Regions from separate parts of the Homo sapiens genome. Here region 1 is linked to region 2. The links are contacts of gene promoters, found by promoter capture Hi-C in human tissues and cell types (Jung and others, 2019). All regions are on one chromosome and are shown on one strand. The core of a region is centred on a gene start or on the middle of the fragment in contact, and the rest is flanking DNA. Distances in the headings are between cores, read along the strand shown. Region 1 has its middle 14 kb from the start of LINC00303. Region 2 holds the start of SOX13 (SRY-box transcription factor 13).

Evidence for each region. Contacts are between HindIII fragments. The study calls those that stand out against the background at their distance.
Region 1: a contact is called between a fragment that was not itself captured here and the fragment with the promoter of SOX13 in region 2, in 1 of the 25 tissues and cell types used here (psoas muscle).

What each region holds. Positions count from the first base shown.
Region 1 is chr1:204,026,153-204,028,852 of GRCh38, forward strand. No RefSeq gene overlaps it. Among named protein-coding and RNA genes, the nearest start is that of LINC00303, 14 kb to the right of the region's middle. RefSeq lists an enhancer at 299-848. The HindIII fragment of the contact is 5,174 bases long and covers 1-2,700 here.
Region 2 is chr1:204,071,840-204,074,539 of GRCh38, forward strand. SOX13 (SRY-box transcription factor 13) reads left to right here and starts at 1,276. Exons shown (of 14, transcript NM_005686.3): 1 at 1,276-1,872. RefSeq lists an enhancer at 1,955-2,647. The HindIII fragment of the contact is 26,498 bases long and covers 1-2,700 here.

The DNA of each region.
Region 1 (2,700 bases), core at 75-2,574, 46 kb before region 2:
GCTGGGAAGGGGAGCCAGGCGTCACTGCCCCACTGCTACAATTAGCTGAGCCTTTCATTCTCCCTCTACAAAGAGGAGAGAGAAAATCAAAGGGAGATAAAAGTGAATGTCCCACAAAGGACATCGAGATGAGGGGGAAGGAAGGGAGGGTGGTGGGAGTGAGAGGCAGAGGCAGAGAGAACGCCCTGCGGCCCAAACAAAAGCCTAAAACCAGCGGATCCCAAGCATCAGACGGTAGAGACATAAGGACAGGAAGAGACTGGGCCGCGTGGGGATCGGGCAGCCCATCAGCCAAGGAGGAGAGGGAATGAAGAAAGATAAAACGCCTATGTGAATGGCCAGGGAAGAGGGTGGACAGGGACCCCGGATGGAGTGAGGACAAAAGCATGAAAAGACAAGATCGCCACCATCCCGTGAGCCACTCCACCGGGGCAAAACAAAGAGGAGCTGGAGACAAAGGCAGAGGGAGGAAGGTGGAGAGGGAACAAACTGGTCCTGCATTGGCGACAGGGCTGTCAGCGTGGGGCTTAGCAGTACATTCTCCAGAGTGGTCAGCTTAGGCTCTGGTGGGAAGAGGTAATCGGGGTACTGGCCTATATTTACTGAAAGATTAAATGAAAGAAATCCTACCTGATTAGGTTTCTTGTTTTTGAACTCTATAGCAGTGGAATTTAAGAAATGAACAAAACAAATACAAGGTAGTCTTGAGCCTTCCAACACGTGTGAATTTTGTGTCTGGCTTCTTTTCTGGACATTATGTAGAGTGTAGTGCAGCTAGGTCATTGTGATTGCTGTGTAGTATTCCATTGTGTGAATATGCTACCATTTGTTTTCCTATTCTTCTATCTGGTGGAGGATTTTAATTCAGGTCCACGATCTCTTATCTGAAACCTTAGGGCTAGATGTGTTTCAGAATTTTAGTAAGGTAAGATGCACATACCCTGTATTACACAACTCCCAGAGCAAGCTCTGTGGCAGTTCCCTCAAATCAAGCACATTAATATTTCTGCAAGGAAATGAATGAAGATTCACCCTATAAATAGCTTCACCTCAGTTCAGGTCAGGTTTTGCTGCCAAATAAGTTCAGGCTAGATCAGGTTATGCCATCAAGTAAGAGATGACAGAGTTTTGGTTTTCATGGCTTTTTGGATTTCTGAATTGAGAGTTAGGAATTGTGGACCTGTATTTTACTAGTTCCCAATAACATTTGCTTTGGAAATACAGGCAGAAGATGAATTGGATAGTACCTCATGGACATCAGCAAAAATCAGAAGTCAGAAATAATGGCCCCAAGGTGTTTAAGCAGTGAGATGTTGCCTAGAAGGGCTCTGGAGTTGGTTAAAGGGGGTTTCAAACTCTGCCTTTGTGTGGGAGACCAGGAAGACCCCTGCAGGCTGCTGGCCGCTCAGGTTCCATTGCCTGGGGCTATTTGAACATTGTAAACCTTTGTTTTTATAACCTCAGCTTCTAATCTCATAAATTGTTGATTGTATTTTTTTGTATAATTTTAAAAGCTTATTTATCTCTTTTCTCCTTTTCATCTTTGAGTCCTCTAGTTCTGTTTTACTTATCTTGATCATTCCTTATCTCTATTTTGTTCTTTATGATTTTATATGACATTCTTTCATCTCATCTTATCTTCTCGCTTTTACTGTTATTGTGCTGTTTTTTTGTGACTGGCGAAAAACTCCTGGGGTTTGGAGAAGCAGACAGTGGTAATTTGTCCCCTGACCTCCCTGGGAGCCAGATTGCTCTGTACTTGGGAACGTTTCCTTCCTTAGGGAGATTTCTGTGTGGTGGGGAGCCCCTCAACATTTAATCTCAAGCCTTGACCAAGCATTGCTCCTGGGACTTTTGAAGCCTTGGTCTCAAAGCAGGAAGCTGTTACAGGTGATGGGGATTTAATTCTGGGCAAATATTTCTTTGTTCTGGAAGACCAGACCCTGGGCCTCAATGACCCAGCATAGATAGCCTTTCCTGGCCCACATATGGGTGGGCCTTAAGAGGCCCACGTCAGCCTCTTAAGAGCTCAGGAGTGCTCTATGGTGAGGATGCAACAACATGTACCAGTTAATCTTTCCCCTGGTGATAGCAGCTTCTTTTCCATAGGGAGGTAGAGGGTGTTGTGCCTGTAAATCACAGAGCAACGAGTGAGGATTTGGCCCAGTTCTAGCCATTGCTAGATGGGGCACAGAGAGGAAGCTGCCAGCAGGATAGCAAGGCATAATATTCTTCCCAGCTTGGCAGAGGTGTCCTTTATTATATTTATTTATTTATTTATTTTGAGACAGAGTTTCGCTCTTGTTGCCCAGGCTGGAGTGTGACGGCGCAATCTCAGCTCACCGCAATGTCCGCCTCCCAGGTTCAAGCGATTCTCCTGCCTCAGCCTCCTGAGTAGCTGGGATTACAGGTATGTGCCACCATGCCCAGCTAATTTTTGTGTTTTTAGTGGAGACAAGGTTTATCCATGTTGGTCAGGCTGGCCTTGAACTCCTGACCTCAGGTGATCCACCCGCCTCAGCCTCCCAAAGTGCTGGGATTATAGGCGTGAATCACCGCACCTGGCCTGAGCCACCGCTCCTGGCCAGAGGTGCCCTTTACAGCCAGACTAAGAGGACCTTAGACACACCCAGGGGCATGCTTTCGTCTCCTCATGAGGCTATGCCAGGTTGAAGAACCCCGACCTTGGGAAATGTATTC
Region 2 (2,700 bases), core at 26-2,525:
TTTACAAAATCAGAATCCAGAAAGGGCAGGACACCGTCTCATTTGTCTTCGTGTCCCCAGCACCCCGGTAAGCCAGGCATAGGTAGACTTTTTTTTTTTTTTTTTTTTGAGACAGAGTCTTACTCTGTCACCCAGGCTAGAGTGCAGTGGTGCGATCTCCACTCACTGCAACCTCTGCCTCCTGGGTTCAAGCAATTCTTCTGCCTCAGCCTCTTGAGTAGTTGGAATTACAGGCATGCACCACCACACCCGGCTAATTTTTGTATTTTTAGTAGAGAGGGGTTTTCACCATGTTGGCCAGGCTGGTCTCGAACTCCCAACCTCAGGTGATCTGCTGCCTTGGCCTCCCAAAGTGCTGGGATTACAGGCGTGAGCCACTGCGCCCGGTCATATGTAGACATTTGATAAATACGTTGAATGAAAGGAAACCAACTCTCCATTCTCCCCCACCCTCCCATATAATGGGACAGGAGAAAATAAGATTTATTTGAGAGGCTGCAAATGACAGGATTAGGGAGTGGTTGGAGATATCAGGAATCCGTCTAGCTACAGGTGAGATCAGGTTTTGTTTTTTTTGAGACGGAGTCTCGCCCTGTCGCCCAGGCAGGAGTGAGTGCAATGGCGCGATCTCGGCCCACTGCAACCTCCCACTCCCGGGTTCAAGCGATTCTCCTGCCTCAGCCTCCCGAGTAGGGGGTTACAGGCGCGCCACCACGCCCGGCTAATTTTTTGTATTTTTAGTAGAGACGGGGTTTCACCGTGTTAGCCAGGATTGTCTCCATCTCCTGACCTCGTGATCCGCCCCCGTCGGCCTCCCAAAGTGCTGGGATTACAGGCGTGAGCCACCGCGCCCGGCAGAGATCAGGTTCTTAAGGGAAGTCCGGAGAAATGGGGTTTTTAAAAAACCCGAGTCCAGGCTATCTGTTTGGAGGGGTTGGGAGGCTTGGAGCTGGACCAATAACTTCTTAGGTCTTGCTTTAAGGAGTGAAGATTCTCTGTAGCGACCCTCATACCTGGGCAGTGGGAGCGGGCAGAATCCTTCTTTCTTCTCTTCTCTACACCCCCTCACTCCACCCCCACCCTTCCCCGCCGCCCGTAAACCTTAGCTTTCCCCTTTCCAACAGAGGTTTCCAGCTGTTGATGCCTGGATGGACCCGGCTGCAGGGAGGAGGAGGAAACTCTCTGTCCCTCCCTTCTTCTGCAAGTCCCCACCCTCCCTCCCTCCTCCCCCTGCGCGCTCTCGGTCTCCCTCCCTCTTTCTCCTCTAGGCTGTCCAGTCGCCTCGCAGCAGCGAGCCGCGAGCGCCCTTCTCCAGTCCCGGCTTGGAACTGAACTGTGTGAGCACGGGTCCTGGAACCCGGGCCCAGAACCGGCGAGCCCAGGTCTGAGCCCAGAGCTCAGCGGTCAGCCTCGTAGGCCCTGACTCGGAATCGAGCCGAGGCGCTGAGGTTGGAGCCGGAGAGCGTGAGAGCCGAAGAGCAGGGAGGGCGGGCCGGCTGCGCGTCCGACGAGTCGCAGAGCAGGACCGCGGAAGGCAGGGAGACGGCCGCAAGCCCAGGGCAGAGGGCAGAGGGCAGAGAGCGGCCTGGCTCGGCGGAGAGGGCGCCGCCCGGCCGGAACCAAGCTCGCCGCCCGGGACGGCGGGCCCCGTGGGGCGCGGACCCAGGGTGGCCGTGGGTCCGCAGCGACTCCCCGGCCGACGGCGGGGGGCGTGCCCCCTCCCAGCCCAGCCTCCCCAACCCGGCCCGCCCGCCGCGTCGCGGGGGCATGTGAGCGGGAAGCCTAGGCTGCCAGCCGCGAGGACCGCACGGAGGAGGAGCAGGAGCGCGGAGCCGCGAGCCCCGAGCCCCGAGCCCGGCGCCTGGCTGAGTAGTAAGTGCACCCCTCCCCGCCATGATCGCGCCGTCGCGCCCATTTCCCCAGCTCTCTGAAGTTTGACACTTGCGCCCCTACGTTTCTGGGCACCCACCGGCTCTCTTCCCTGCGAGTTTCCACCCTGTGCAAAGTTTTTCGAGGAGAGACGGACCCTCACCTACCCCCAACAACGCTGGGCAGTGGCGGCTCCTCCCTGGCCGACTTGGGTCCTTGTGGAGAGGGATGGCAGCCTCTAAGGCAGTGCGTGGCTGTGTGTGTGTTTGTGTGTGTGTGTGTGTGTGTGTGTACGCGCGCGCGCGCGCGCGTTCACCACGCGGGTCGAGCTTAGGGTGCACCCCCAACCCGCTCCTCGCCGACCGCAGAGGACTAGGTCTTTCTCATCAGCCCGACTATGCGCCTAGTTTAAGGATTTCTCAGCGGGAAGCCGAAGCGACCTGCGCGCGTCCTGCGTGGGGCTCAGGTGCCTGCGACGAGGCGCAGAGCTCCTCCACCATGGTTGCGTGGGGTGCTGGGGGACAGACGCGCTCCCCTTGCCACGGTTTCAGGGTCGTTCCCCAGCGGACCAGACCAGCGCGGCATCCTGTTTGTTTTCTGCTCCGGCTGCTCCTGTCCCACCCCCACCCCCACCGCAGGCTGCTTCTTGCTACCCCCACCTCCCGCCCTGGGATATCGTAGGTGAGCCTTTTCATCCCGATTCCGCTGCAAACGCTGATCGCGCCTAGGGGTAGGGAGATGCGGAGCGGGTAGTCGTTCAGTTCCCAGCGGCTCGCCATTGTTTTCCCACCCCGCGCGTTCCGTACGTAAACACACACGCACACACAAGGT